3 separate regions of the Homo sapiens genome follow, and regions 2 and 3 are each linked to region 1. The links are contacts of gene promoters, found by promoter capture Hi-C in human tissues and cell types (Jung and others, 2019). All regions are on one chromosome and are shown on one strand. Each heading gives the region's core, a stretch centred on a gene start or on the middle of the fragment in contact. The rest is flanking DNA. Distances are from core to core; before and after follow the strand shown. Region 1 holds the start of AGBL5 (AGBL carboxypeptidase 5). Region 2 holds the start of UCN (urocortin). Region 3 holds the start of KRTCAP3 (keratinocyte associated protein 3).

Region 1 (4,529 bases), core at 1,794-4,293:
TTTTTGTTTGTTTGTTCGTTTGTTGAGACGGAGTCTCGCTCTGTCGCCCACGGTGGAGTGCAGTGGCACGATCTCGGCTCACTGCAACCTCCGCCTCCTGGGTTCAAGGGATTCTCCTGCCTCAGCCTCCCAAGTAGCTAGGATTACAGGCATGCGCCACCACGTCCGGCTAATTTTTTATTTTTAGTAGAGAAGGGGTTTCCATGTTGTCCAGGCTGGTGTCGAACTCCTGAACTCAGGTGATTCACCCGCCTCGGCTTCCCGAAATGCTGGGATTACAGGCGTGAGCCACCGCGTGTGGCCTTTTCTTTGAGACAGAGTCTCTCTCTGTCTCCCAGGCTGTTGTGCAGTGGCGCACTCTAGGCTCACTGCAATCCGCCTCCCAAGTTCAAGCGATTCTCCTGCCTCAGGCTCCCGAGTTGCTGGGGATTACCGGAGTGGTAGGAGCTCACTACCACTCCCGGCTGCTTTTTTTTTTTTTTTTTTTTTTGAGACGGAGTTTCGCTCTTGTTGCCTAGGCTGGAGTGGCGCGATCTCGGTTTACTGCAACCTCCGCCTCTCGAGTTCAAGCGATTCTCCCACCTCAGCCTCCGGAGTAGCTGGGATTACAGGCGCGCGCCACCATCCTCTGCTAATTATTTTTGTATGTTAGTAGAGACAGGTTTCACCATGTTGGCCAGGCTGGTCTGCAACTCTTGAACTCCGGGGATCCGCCCACCTCGGCCTTCCAAAGTGCTGGGATTACAGGTGTGAGCCACCACGCCTGGCCATGAATGTGATTTTTTGATATTGAATAATAAAAGCTATGCAGATCTTCTATATTCTTCTATCTAAATGTTGACACAACTTTATATCTAGAAACTTCGGATTTAAAGCTCAGCCCGAGAGAACCCATCAAATGTTGGAGCTGCAAGGGGCTAGAAAGCATCACCAGACCTGGATTCGCGGGCGATGTTGGCTCAAGGTAGCACAGGACGTTGGCCCAGAGCTGGAAATTGAGGCCAGGTCTTCCGGCACACCCACCCCACAGGACGACCAAGCAGGGCTTCACAGAGGAGTTGGGGGTTAGGTTTATTTCTGTTGTTAAAAACCCGGTGAACAAAAGGTTGTGGAAAAAACACATGCAAAAGACAGGCGAAGGTGTGAGCTGGATAGGGACAAAGATGGGGGAACCCGTGGGGTCACTCCTTGACCCCACCCGGGACACCTAGACATCCACAGTGTCGGGGGAGGGGCCCCAGACCAGGCAGAAGACCCTTCCCCGGCCCTGGGGAACCCAAGATTTCCGAGAGTAAGCGGACCTGTGCAAAGACCCACAAGGGAGGCCAGTGGCCTGTGCTGGGCACTGTACAGCCGCCCCGACCCCGACCTCACGTGGGCCTCGGAGGCTGCAGGGACCTACCCGGCCGCGCGCCGCCCACCATCCCAGGTCTACCGCAGGGGAATCCCCCAGGCTTGCGAGCGCTTCCGAGGGCAGGAAAGCCTGTACTGCAGCCCCGCCGCCCTCTCCTGGCGCGTAGCCCTCTCCCCGAGCCCTCGGGCCACGCCGCCAGGCCCGCGATCCCAGGGCGGCCCGGGGGGTTCGGCACAGCCCGATAATGCGCCGCGCCGAAGCCTGCAGCACCCCGCGGTCGCCGTCTCTCTTGCACTGGTCAGGACGAATAGAGCCTGACAAAACCTGAGTTAATTGGCCGAGCGAATGTCGTTCGCGTCAGGAGAGCACGTCCGGAGAAGCCAAGGGAAATGTGGAGCAGGAGCAGCCAAAGTGGCCCATCGGCTCTCGAGCAGGGTTTGCGCGTCGCGGTCGCAAAGCCCCTGTGAGTGCAGGTACCGCGGCACAAGCGCTGCCCCGGAGCTCCAGGAGGCGGCGGCGGGCTCGGCGTTCGCGGTCCAGGAGAAACCACCGCGGGGTGTTGGGAACATTTTGTTAAAAAGCCGGGAAGCTCAGGGCCGGTGTGGCCTCCGTTCTGGCCTGAGAACCCGGACTTTGGGCAGCTTCTTTTCCTTGCCTTTGGGTCTCCGGCTTTCTCAGCTCTGTGAGGTCCCATGGGTCTCCTGCCCTGGCAGGTTCCTTCAGCTGGAGAAAGCGGGGGTCATGGCTGGATGAGGTTGCGGTAAGCATTAGAGGGCTATCAGCAGCATCTTATCGCAGCGGAGCCTTCGATAGCTCAGTTGGTAGAGCGGAGGACTGTAGTGGATAGGGCGTGGCAATCCTTAGGTCGCTGGTTCGATTCCGGCTCGAAGGACTTCGTCTGTAATTTTTAACCTCAATTTAATTCAATTATCCCATAAGGGGAAAGGCTTGGAGGCCTCCTGTGACTTAGCATTCGTACTGCCGTCAGTCCATAGGGAACACCGTAGTATGTAGTATACGGTAACGCTCTTTCTGCGTTCAATGTACATGTGGTAACGTGTTTTAGAATGTTTTCTGCTTAAGCACACGATTATATGCTTGATTTTTAGAATCTTGCACATGGATGCCACTGTATTGTACTCTGCTAAATAAATGTCCTGAACTGTGGTTGATCCACTGGTCAGTGAACAGTGCAGTGAACCTGTAAGGCAAAGGGAAAGAACTAAGCAGCAGGCGGGGGATTAGCTCAAATGGTAGAGCGCTCGCTTAGCATGCGAGAGGTAGCGGGATCGATGCCCGCATCCTCCACTCAGCTTTTGCGTCCGTCACACTACAGAACACAAAACGGGAGGGATTCCCGGCGCAGTGGGCTACGTGTTTCATTTTAGAGACACAAGACTGTTAAGCGATAAGGAGTTTCACACGATGTCTTTTTATTTCGCAGTTGAGTCCCAGTTTCTGCCGCTTTATCTTTCCCGCCTCCCGGCAGGCAGGCCGTTAACCGTCTTCCGGAAGACGCTGCTAGAACCCTCCGGCCGCTCCTGCCCGCCATCGTCCCCGAACGACACTCGCTCAGGTACCCACTAACGTGCGAGGAACCCTGAGAGCTGACCAATGGTAGCGAGCTTTACTGGGCGGGTCGCCAGCTGCAGCCACGGCCAATAGGCGAGAGACTTCTTGTTTCCTGGCAGAGCGGGGTCCCGGCACCGCGGCGCTCGGGTGTTTTTGGGGGCCCGGGTGGAGGGCCCGGGTGCCGGGGCCCAAGGTGCGGCCTCGCTAGCGGGAGAGGGAGCGGGATCACCGGCCCGGAGAGAGGTGAGGGGCTCTGCGCGGACTACGGGCCCCGCCAGCCCCGGCCCCGCCAGCCCCGGCCCCGCCCCCTTCTCTCAGCCCCTTGAGCCCGAGCCCCTCGAAGGCCACCCCGCACCCCGCTCCCGACCTGGCTTACGCGGTCCCGACCCCGCCCAGCTCCGTGGCCTCACCTCTGACTCCTAGGCCCTCCCTGCCTAATCCCCTGCCGCGGGAGCCCGTCTCGACCCCTTCCATGCCTCCCAGTCCCACCCTGCCCAGGGCAAGCCCGCTCGGTGTGACGGTTCCCCGCGAGTCGAGGGTGGAGAAGCCAGCCTCCTTCCCCCGAGTGGGACTCTAGCAGCCCACCTCTTTTAGGGGTGCTGAGAACACCCATTACTCATCCACAGCTACTAGGGTAGCTTTCTCAGGGTGCAGTGCTTACGGGGCGGAGGGGGATGGAAACAGACCCATGCCCTGGCTGGAAGGGAGCTCCAGTCGCTAGGTGAGCCCAGTAGCCTTTGGCTTGGCAGAGGCACCACTGTTATAGTTTTTCTCCATACTAGGCATAAGGTAGGAACAAAAAAGGAAGAACCAGCCCTTCCAGGGCTCAGGGGAGCAACACCAGAATGTCCGCTCAGTACTTGTGAGGACAGAGGCTGGAGAGAGGACTACCCATTTACACTCAGAACCTCGATTCCTCTCTCTGCTCTGTGCTGGAGAGTGCAGAGCCAGAGATCCAGAACGGCCCATCTCTAAAGGTGGCCATGTATGGTGGTGAGTGTATCTTGGCTAGGTTTGGAAAATCTGACCTCTCTGATTATATTCTCTAATCTTTGGGCTGCAAAGCAGCTGAGAGTTTAGTGTTTTTCAACATAGTTAAGCCACTGAGTTTTATTTGGGAACAGCCAAGCTAAAGTAAAATGGGGTCCCTTTAGGTCATTTACAACCCTTAGTGTTGGGGTACAGAATGCTGCTTTCTCTTGGCCTTTGCTGGAAGACCACTTCTATGTTTTCTAAGAGGGAGACAGCCTTTTGTTTCATAGGGCACTCCCTAAGAATAGCTCTTATTTATCAAGAGATACCCAGAAAACTCTTCGATTTGTCTTCCCTTTCCTCCTTAACCTAACCCTTGTTTTCCCCCAGCTCTCAGGGCCAGAGCGGGGCAGGAGGATGCTTTCCCAGCCCCACCATGGAGCTGCGCTGTGGGGGATTGCTGTTCAGTTCTCGCTTTGATTCAGGGAATCTAGCCCACGTGGAGAAGGTGGAATCTTTGTCCAGTGATGGGGAAGGGGTAGGAGGTGGGGCGTCAGCCCTGACCAGTGGCATTGCCTCTTCCCCTGACTATGAATTCAACGTGTGGACCCGACCAGACTGTGCTGAAACG
Region 2 (4,487 bases), core at 525-3,024, 260 kb after region 1:
TCGGTGCAACCCAACCCCGGAGCCACAAAGGCGCGCCCCCTAGGGCGGAAAAGTACACTTTCCTCCTCACCCGCTGTTCCTCTGGGGTGCTGGGAGGGCAGGCAAGGCAGGCTGAGTAGAGGAGAAACCCACGTGGCGGGGGACGGAGTGAGCGGGGCTCGAGCTGCCTCGTGCCTTCGCAGCACCCGCCCACCGAGCCTTCTTTCCCGGGCACAGGCCTGCGCCGACCCGACCCTGCTCGAGAGCCCGCGCTAGAGTCGGGGAGGATCTGCGCAGAGACCGCAGCATCACCCAAATCGGCGCCGGCCCCGGGAGGATCTCAATAAAGAACTCGAGCGTCCCAGACCCGTATCTCCTTTCGCTGCCCAACCCCGCAGCCTGGGCTTCGAAGGCGACCCGCCCACCATCCTGCCCTTCCCAGAACCTGAGACCGTCTGGGGGGCGGAAGCCAAATGAACCCCTATTGGGCACCTCTGTGATGCCAGGAGCGAACTGGTGAGCCCAGCGCCCTGGGAAGAGGGCCGAGGGCGGGGCGGTGGTGCCGGGACCTCTGAGGTCCTGGGGATTTGGGGACCCTTGGGGTCCACATGCACCTGGCTGACCTGGCTGAAAGCCGCTGTCTCGGAGCCCCCCACAGCATTTTGTTCCCCTCCCGCTGGCCCGGGGGCCCCACCTTCCCACGGGTTCCCACGCTGCTGTGACTGCCCTGCCTCTACGACAAAAGCCAACGGGTCTTCAGTACTTTTATTAAAAAATAGTCACGCAGACAGTGCCCTGGTGGCTCTGCCCCGCATCCCAACTCTGGGGTGGGGGAAAGGGGTCAACGTTTTCGCAGCCCCAAACCGGGCCATCACTTGCCCACCGAGTCGAATATGATGCGGTTCTGCTCGGCGCGCTCCCGCTGGCTCTGCGTCCGCGCCAGCTCCAGCAGGGTCCGCAGCAGGTGAAAGGTGAGGTCAATGGACAGAGAAGGGTTGTCCCGCCGCGGCCGCTCGCCTGCCGTCCCGAGTCCCAATCGGCCGGGCCCCGCGCGGCGCGGGAAGCGCTCCGCCAGCAGCAAGAGGAGCGCGCGGGCCCCGCCACCCTGGTTCCGTGCCCCGGGGCTCCAGCGCAGACTCGGGTCCTGGACCCCGGCCGCCTCGGGGCTCCTCTGGCTGCTCCCAGGGCACAGCTGTACCAGGAGCAGCAGCGCGGCCAGCAGCGCTGCGCGTCCCGCCTGCCTCATGGTGCCGCCGGCCCTGGACACACAGGGGCAGCGCAGGGTGAGGTGCGCCTGGGACAGCTGCAGGCCGCCGCTCCCCTCCCCGCGCTCGCCCGGCGACCCCTCCGGCCGCCGCCCAATGCCCGCAGCCTGCCCTCCAGCCCCAGCCACTGCGCCAGTGCTGTTCCATCCCTTCCACCCAGCCTCCCTCCCCGGAGGAGCGTGGTGGCTGAGCTGAGCGGAGTCCTGGTGCAGGGGGAGGCTGGGCGGACGCTCTGAGCCACTCACAGGTTGTCGGCGAGCGTCTGTACGGTCCAAGATTGAGCTCCAGTCTCTGTCCCTCGGGGCAGGCTGAAGACGCCTTGGGGAACACAGGGTCTGTCCCGGGGCTGTCGCCAGCCTTATATAGTGCCAGGACAGCTCCGACTGACGTCAGCGAAGAACATGCACTGATTGTAGAAGCAATGACAGCCACAGCTTCGAGTCTGACGGCTGGCGGGCCCCCGGAGGGGCGCACCTCCCTACACCAGCCTTCGTGCCCCTGGGGCTAGCGCTGGAAGCAGCACTGGACGCAGGAAAGCGAGAAGCCGGCTGGGGCGTAAAGACTGCTCTGGGACCCACGGGAGTCCCTCGCCCCGCTTAGAACAGCCAGCAATGACTAGGGCCGTCCCCAGACCAGACTAGTCCGGGTCGCGTGTTCTGACACACGAAAGGGAGGCGGGACCGTGAGGCTGTCCATGGTGCTGACCCCGTCCTCTGCCTCTAGAAGTGGCCAGAAATGTGAGAACGCTGTGCCGCTGGAACCCACTGCCTCCCTGCAGCTATCAGTTCTGCAAATGCAGGCATCAGGAGTCCACCGCTGGCACTCAGCCAACACAGTGGGACCCACTGAGAGGCAGTCTGCCACAACCAAAGTCTCCCAGCATTCTTATCTTTTTCCAGCCCCAGGATCCAAATTGTAGGGCTGTCTGACAGGCACCATGTAACAGAGGGTCTCTAGCATCCGAGTGCTTTCAGACCACAAATGGCTGGCCCATCTGCTTTTGAGTTTGCCAAAGTAGTTTAGCAAAGTTCAGTTTCTCTCCTGGGAATCATAGCAGCAGTGTAACTCTGCCCATGAGCAGCAAAGAAATATGGGTTCAAGTTTCTGCTAACTCCTGGTGTGGACAGGTCACCTCCCTCCTACCAACCTCAGGGTCCTCATTTGTAAGACTGGGCTTGGCCAGGCGCGGTGGCTCACGCCTGTAATCCCAACACTTTGGGAGGCCGAGGCAGGCGGATCACGAGGTCAGTAGTTTGAAACCAGCCTGGCCAATATGGCGAAACCCCATCTCTACTAAAAATACAAAAATTAGCCGGGCGTGGCGGTATGCGCCTGTGGTCCCAGCTACTCAGGAGGCTGAGGCAGGAGAACTGCTTGAACCCAGGAGGCGGAAGCTGCAGTGAGGCAAGATCGCGCCACTGCACTCCAGCCTGGGAGACAGAGCAAGACCCTGTCTCAAAAAAAAAAAAAAAAAAAAAAAAAAAAATTGGGCTTGGTGGTCTCTTGGCTTCTTTCCAGCTCTAGAAATGACTCCCCAATAGTTTTCTGCTTAAAAACTTACTCATTACCACTGCAGATTCCGGATTACATATTTAATAACATATTTACTGAGGCACCATATAAAGGGTTCCGGGAGTCTCTAAAGAGCTGGAGCTACAAGAAGCCTAGGCAGGGTTAGAGTAACAAATGTGTCTATGAAGAGTGGGGATGAGTGGCATTTGCTGGGATATGGGTGTAAAGTTGATAAGGTCATGAAGGTTCAACAGATATTTATGGAGTGCCTAGTATGTGGTGGGAATAAGACTATTATCAAGGGCTCTAAAGCAGTCAGTGTACATTTTAGAGTGAAGAGGGGCATTGCAGGGTGCTAGTCCTCTTAAGCTCTGACCGGCAACCCAACCCCGTGGAAACTGGTATGCCCACTTTGAGGAGGTTGTCTGACCGTTCCAGGGTCAAGCTGCATCACTGCAAGGTGGAAACGATGGAGTGAGGCAGGCTTAGAGCCGATGTGCCTTCCAGGACAGGTAGGAGTTCCAGATAACAGCAACACATTGGACAACGGCCAACCTAAGGAACAGGAATAACACAATGAAGAGGAGGAAGGCTAAGCAGTGAGCAAGGGCTGGAGATGGGAGCATGAAATGGCAAAGGAGGGATCATGACAAAGGATTGGCAGGTTTAGGTCTCTTTCCTTCAGCACCTTTTTTTTGAGATGGAGTCTCCTCTGTTGCCCAGGCTGGAGTGCAGTAGCACAATCTTGGCTCACTGCCTCCCGGGTTCAATCAATTCTCGTGCCTCAGCCTCCCAAGTAGCTGGGACTACAGGTGTGCTCCACCACACCTGGCTAATTTTTGTATTTTTAGGAGAGACAGGGTTTCACCATGTTGGCCAGGCTGGTCTCGAACTCCTGACCTCAAGTGAGCCACCCACCTCGGCCTCCCAAAGTGCTGGGATTACAGGTGTGAGCCACGACACCCAGCCCTTTCAGCACCCTATGAAGGGCCTGTGTGGCTTGCACTAAAGGACAACTGGCTCAAATTCTAGTGCCATCCCAGAGCTCTGTTTCCTGGCTGAGAGCCTCAAAGGCTAAATATTCAGCGGCTCTCTTGCCATGCATAGCTCTGTTAATCACAGAAAGGGCCCCTATCTGGGCCCCTTCTAAGTTCATTGATCTGTCTTGTACCAGCTGAGATTTCATCTTCCGAAATGTACGGACTATCATATAAAGTAGCATCTTTCTGTTTTAAATTAACCTTGCTCTGGTTTCAAAGAGTGTTGCAAAGGACCCTAATGTTTAGGATTTGGTTCATAAGTCTGTATTCCTTTTTTGTTTTTTCGGGTTTTTTTTGAGACGGAGTCTCGCTCTGTTGCCCAGGCTGGAGTGCGGTGGCAAGATCTTGGCTCACTGCAACCTCCGCCTCCCAGGTTCAAGCGATTCTCCTCCCTCAGCCTCCCGAGTAGCTGGGACTACAGGCACCTGCCACCACACCCAGCTAATTTTTGTATTTTTAGTAGAGACAGGGTTTCAACATATTGGCCAGGCTGGTCTCGAATTCCTGACCTTGTGATCCACCTGCCTCAGCCTCCCAAAGTGTTGGGATTACAGGCGTGAGCCACTGTGTCCAGCCTTTTTTTTTTTTTTTTTTTTTTTTTTTTTTGGAGACAGGGTCGTCTCACTCTGTCACCAGGCTGAAATGCAGTGGCACAATCTCAGTTCACAGCAACCTCCATCTCACAGGCTCA
Region 3 (4,865 bases), core at 1,817-4,316, 390 kb after region 1:
CTCTACTGAAAATACAAAAAATTAGCCGGGCATGGTGGTGGGCACCTGTAGTCCCAGCTACTCGGGAGGCTGAGGCAGGAGAATGGCGTGAACCCGGTAGGCAGAGGTTGCAGTGAGCTGAGATTGCGCCACTGCACTCCAGCCTGGGCGACAGAGCGAGACTCCGTCTCAAAAAAAAAAAAAAAAAAAATTGTGAACATTAAAAAAGAAAGCTTGTGGTTGGAGAGCAGAAAAATAATTAAAACCAGAAAGGCAGTGGATGGTATCTTTCATATAATATCTTACAGTTTTTGAAGCCCTTTCAGGTGCATTTTTCAATATATTGTTTTCTCAGCAAGTGCTGAGCACCTACTATGTACAAAGCCTTGTGCTAAGTAGAATGAGAGCTATAAAGATGAACACACTGGGGGCTTGCCAGATGCCTGCTCCAGTTCCTTGTTTCCTTTTCTAGGAGTTCATTCAAAAGTGCCTGCAGTCTGAGCCTGCTCGCAGACCAACAGCCAGAGAACTTCTGTTCCACCCAGCATTGTTTGAAGTGCCCTCGCTCAAACTCCTTGCGGCCCACTGCATTGTGGGACACCAACGTGAGTCGTCTTGGCCCTATGGGGAATAGTCTTCCAATCTGGAGCCCTGTAACTATCACTGGCATGCTTGTTTTCCTCTTTATTTCCAAAGGGATTCTTTTTTTTTTTTTTTTTTTTTTTTTTTTTTTTTTTTGAGACAGAGTCTCACTCTCTCTCAGGCTGGAGTGCAATGGCTTGATCTCAGCTCATTGCAACCTCCAGCTCCCAGGCTCAAGCGATTCTTGTGCCTTAGCCTCCCGAAGAGCTGGGATTACAGGCATGTGCCACCATGCCTGGGTAATTTTTGTACTTTTAGTAGAGATGGGGTTTCGCCATGTTGGCCAGGCTGGTCTTGAACTGGCGTCAAGTGATCTGTCCGCCTCGGCTTCCCAAAGTGCTGGGATTACAGGCATGAGCCACTGTGCCAGGCCTCCAAAGGGATTCTTTACCCCTTTGCCTGCATGCCTTCTTTGACATTTAATCTGACTATCCCTTCATAATATCCCACTCCATCATGCCCTCCAGACATGATCCCAGAGAACGCTCTAGAGGAGATCACCAAAAACATGGATACTAGTGCCGTACTGGCTGAAATCCCTGCAGGACCAGGAAGAGAACCAGTTCAGACTTTGTGAGTAACTGAGAGGGTCTGAAAGGGGCAGATTGGTCACGACCACTCTTGAGGCTCTGTAAACTGTCCATTCTCTGGGAATGCTTGAATTTGCTATTTTGCTTGTTTCTTTCCTTCCATCTCCTTTCTCTTTTCTCGTCCAGGTACTCTCAGTCACCAGCTCTGGAATTAGATAAATTCCTTGAAGATGTCAGGTGAGAGCAGAGTGAGAAGCAGGCTTTCTTGAGGAAGCAGGCGGGGTTGGGTATCCTAAGGCGTTCACAGAGCCCATGTGACCTGTCTTCATCTCCCTCCAGGAATGGGATCTATCCTCTGACAGCCTTTGGGCTGCCTCGGCCCCAGCAGCCACAGCAGGAGGAGGTGACATCACCTGTCGTGCCCCCCTCTGTCAAGACTCCGACACCTGAACCAGCTGAGGTGGAGACTCGCAAGGTGGGGGCTGTGTGGGTGTGGATTGTCTCCATGGTTGTGGTGGAAGGGAGAGAGGACATCTCAAATAAGGCTCTATCCTTTAGAGAAAATGCTCCCTAGCAGCCATGCCCTATGGGCTCGAAAGACGTCTAGGTATTGGGTTTTTTATGGACAGGTCTCTAGAGTGACCCTCTCTTCCCTCCCTAGGTGGTGCTGATGCAGTGCAACATTGAGTCGGTGGAGGAGGGAGTCAAACACCACGTAAGGCTCAGGGCTAGGGTTGCGCAGGGCTAGTAGCCAGAGGGTAGGGAAGAAAAGTCTCATTTTCTGACTGTCCTATTCTCCAGCTGACACTTCTGCTGAAGTTGGAGGACAAACTGAACCGGCACCTGAGCTGTGACCTGATGCCAAGTGAGTCTCTCCTTTCCCTCAGAGGATGGAGAGTCTATGAGCCTTATCTTTTAGGGACATATTCAGGGGTGGGGGAGGTGACAAGGCAGTAACACATTGACTCACATAGAATGACTATCTTAGACCCTAAAGCAGTGGGTGGATCTGACTGACAGTTTAGCCCTAGTGGGGCTGTCTGAAGGGCCCCAGGTCCCTCAGTCCCGTACTGTACTCACCCCCTCCTGTTTCTTTGTCAGATGAGAATATCCCCGAGTTGGCGGCTGAGCTGGTGCAGCTGGGCTTCATTAGTGAGGTGAGGTTTCTGCCTTCATCTGCCCTGGCTGCCCCCATGCCTTCTCTTCTCTCAGCCCCCATCTTACTGAGCTCTTCTCCCCCAGGCTGACCAGAGCCGGTTGACTTCTCTGCTAGAAGAGACCTTGAACAAGTTCAATTTTGCCAGGAACAGTACCCTCAACTCAGCCGCTGTCACCGTCTCCTCTTAGAGCTCACTCGGGCCAGGCCCTGATCTGCGCTGTGGCTGTCCCTGGACGTGCTGCAGCCCTCCTGTCCCTTCCCCCCAGTCAGTATTACCCTGTGAAGCCCCTTCCCTCCTTTATTATTCAGGAGGGCTGGGGGGGCTCCCTGGTTCTGAGCATCATCCTTTCCCCTCCCCTCTCTTCCTCCCCTCTGCACTTTGTTTACTTGTTTTGCACAGACGTGGGCCTGGGCCTTCTCAGCAGCCGCCTTCTAGTTGGGGGCTAGTCGCTGATCTGCCGGCTCCCGCCCAGCCTGTGTGGAAAGGAGGCCCACGGGCACTAGGGGAGCCGAATTCTACAATCCCGCTGGGGCGGCCGGGGCGGGAGAGAAAGGTGGTGCTGCAGTGGTGGCCCTGGGGGGCCATTCGATTCGCCTCAGTTGCTGCTGTAATAAAAGTCTACTTTTTGCTAAAAGCGTCGTGTGTTCGCGCCTTTCCCGCCAGGGGGAGCGGGCCCGGGGCGGAGGCGGGGCCCAGGTGGGAGGGGGACCCGGGACGGAGGCGGGGCCCAGGTTGGGGCGGGGCCGGGCCCAGGTACAGCGGCCCTGCGGCTGGCGCGGCGGACGGGATGAGGCGCTGCAGTCTCTGCGCTTTCGGTAACTTCCGGGCCCTGGCGTCTCGTCTCCTTACCCTGGGGCTACCCTTGCCCCGTCCTACTGCCCGCGGTTAACCCGCCGCGAGCCGCCTCTCCCCTCCCCGCCCGACTCAACCCTGCCCTCCCCCGTGCTTTGCAGACGCCGCCCGGGGGCCCAGGCGGCTGATGCGTGTGGGCCTCGCGCTGATCTTGGTGGGCCACGTGAACCTGCTGCTGGGGGCCGTGCTGCATGGCACCGTCCTGCGGCACGTGGCCAATCCCCGCGGCGCTGTCACGCCGGAGTACACCGTAGCCAATGTCATCTCTGTCGGCTCGGGGCTGCTGGTGAGCGCGGCAGGCGACCCGGGCGGGGGCCGGGCTCCCGGAGAGCCCAGCAGGCCAAAGGCTTTGTGTCTTCCACAGAGCGTTTCCGTGGGACTTGTGGCCCTCCTGGCGTCCAGGAACCTTCTTCGCCCTCCACTGGTGAGAGGGACTTCCCTGGAGCTTTTAACGAGTAGGCTTGAGTCAGGGAAATGGGGGCTGACTGAGCTTGGTCTTTCAATAGATTGGAGGAGCCTCAGAGAAACTGGGTGTCTAGTCACTGGGAGAGTTAGCCAGGCCCAGGCTGCTCACCCTGATCTCCTGTCCCTGCCAGCACTGGGTCCTGCTGGCACTAGCTCTGGTGAACCTGCTCTTGTCCGTTGCCTGCTCCCTGGGCCTCCTTCTTGCTGTGTCACTCACTGTGGCCAACGGTGGCCGCCGCCTTATTGCTGACTGCCACCCAGGACTGCTGGATCCTCTGGTACCACTGGATGAGGGGCCGGGACATACTGACTGCCCCTTTGACCCCACAAGAATCTATGTGAGCACATTCTCTTCCTTCTTGTGGTCTACAAAGCCTTGGTCCTGCCCTTTTAATTTCCCCTATTTGCTGCACTTGCCCTACTCCCTCCTACTCCCCATCCTTCTTGCTTTTCAGGATACAGCCTTGGCTCTCTGGATCCCTTCTTTGCTCATGTCTGCAGGGGAGGCTGCTCTATCTGGTTACTGCTGTGTGGCTGCACTCACTCTACGTGGAGTTGGGCCCTGCAGGAAGGACGGACTTCAGGGGCAGGTAAGGAAGGCAAACAGGAAGGGTTCATTCCACAGAGACTGGCTGTGTTGAAAAGATGCTGACCGGCCGGGTGCGGAGGCTCACACCTGTAATCCCAGCACTTTGGGAGGCTGAGGCAGGCGGATCACTTGAGGTCAGGAGTTTGAGACCAGCTTGGACAACATGGTGAAACCTCGTCTCTACTAAAAATACAAAAAATTAGGTGGGGTGGTGGGCGCCTGTAATCCCAGCTACTTGGAAGGCTGAGGCAGGAGAATCGCTTGAACCCGGAAGGCGGAGGTTGCAGTGAACCGAGATCACGCCACTGCACTCCAGCCTGGGCAACAGAGTGAGGCTCCGTCACAAAAAACAAAACAAAAAAAAGATGCTGACCTATCATTCAGGGCGAGGGTGTCTAACTCTATCTTCTTCTGCAGCTAGAGGAAATGACAGAGCTTGAATCTCCTAAATGTAAAAGGCAGGAAAATGAGCAGCTACTGGATCAAAATCAAGAAATCCGGGCATCACAGAGAAGTTGGGTTTAGGACAGGTAATGGGCCTTGAAGGTGGTGGCCCGGGTAAGAGCGGGGACAAGGAAGTGCTCTTAGAACTGGGTCTAGGTCTTGCCATGCTGCTTTCCCCTCTGACCTGGGTTGGTTCTCCCCTCT

The links. The method cuts DNA at HindIII sites, captures the fragments that hold promoters and counts their contacts. A contact is called where the count stands out against the background at its distance.
Region 2: a contact is called between the fragment with the promoter of UCN here and the fragment with the promoter of AGBL5 in region 1, in 1 of the 25 tissues and cell types used here (spleen).
Region 3: the fragment with the promoter of KRTCAP3 here is called in contact with the fragment with the promoter of AGBL5 in region 1 in 2 of the 25 tissues and cell types used here (hippocampus and ovary).

What each region holds. Positions count from the first base shown.
Region 1 is chr2:27,048,625-27,053,153 of GRCh38, forward strand. It overlaps AGBL5 (AGBL carboxypeptidase 5), which reads left to right and starts at 3,044. Exons shown (of 15, transcript NM_021831.6): 1 at 3,044-3,169; 2 at 4,289-4,529. The coding sequence starts at 4,335. It overlaps TRY-GTA2-1 (tRNA-Tyr (anticodon GTA) 2-1), which reads left to right and starts at 2,158; the gene lies at 2,158-2,246. TRA-AGC8-1 (tRNA-Ala (anticodon AGC) 8-1) reads left to right here and starts at 2,590; the gene lies at 2,590-2,662. AGBL5-AS1 (AGBL5 antisense RNA 1) reads right to left here and starts at 1,640. Exons shown (of 2, transcript NR_046730.1): 1 at 1,556-1,640; 2 at 1,059-1,380. RefSeq lists silencers at 1,425-1,634, 2,337-2,631, 3,035-3,474, 3,495-3,544 and enhancers at 1,795-2,084, 2,255-2,484, 2,799-3,298. The HindIII fragment of the contact is 18,076 bases long and covers 1-4,529 here.
Region 2 is chr2:27,306,671-27,311,157 of GRCh38, forward strand. UCN (urocortin) reads right to left here and starts at 1,775. Exons shown (of 2, transcript NM_003353.4): 1 at 1,490-1,775; 2 at 730-1,238. The coding sequence starts at 1,225. The coding sequence ends at 851. TRIM54 (tripartite motif containing 54) reads left to right here. Exons shown (of 9, transcript NM_187841.3): 9 at 217-765. It overlaps MPV17 (mitochondrial inner membrane protein MPV17), which reads right to left. Exons shown (of 8, transcript NM_002437.5): 8 at 2,822-3,311. The coding sequence ends at 3,242. The HindIII fragment of the contact is 27,300 bases long and covers 1-4,487 here.
Region 3 is chr2:27,439,315-27,444,179 of GRCh38, forward strand. KRTCAP3 (keratinocyte associated protein 3) reads left to right here and starts at 3,067. Exons shown (of 7, transcript NM_173853.4): 1 at 3,067-3,126; 2 at 3,265-3,449; 3 at 3,528-3,587; 4 at 3,760-3,966; 5 at 4,084-4,218; 6 at 4,635-4,747. The coding sequence starts at 3,099. The coding sequence ends at 4,742. It overlaps NRBP1 (nuclear receptor binding protein 1), which reads left to right. Exons shown (of 18, transcript NM_013392.4): 11 at 452-584; 12 at 1,089-1,194; 13 at 1,338-1,388; 14 at 1,491-1,626; 15 at 1,813-1,866; 16 at 1,953-2,016; 17 at 2,253-2,308; 18 at 2,394-2,945. The coding sequence ends at 2,498. RefSeq lists an enhancer at 3,202-3,744. The HindIII fragment of the contact is 11,668 bases long and covers 1-4,865 here.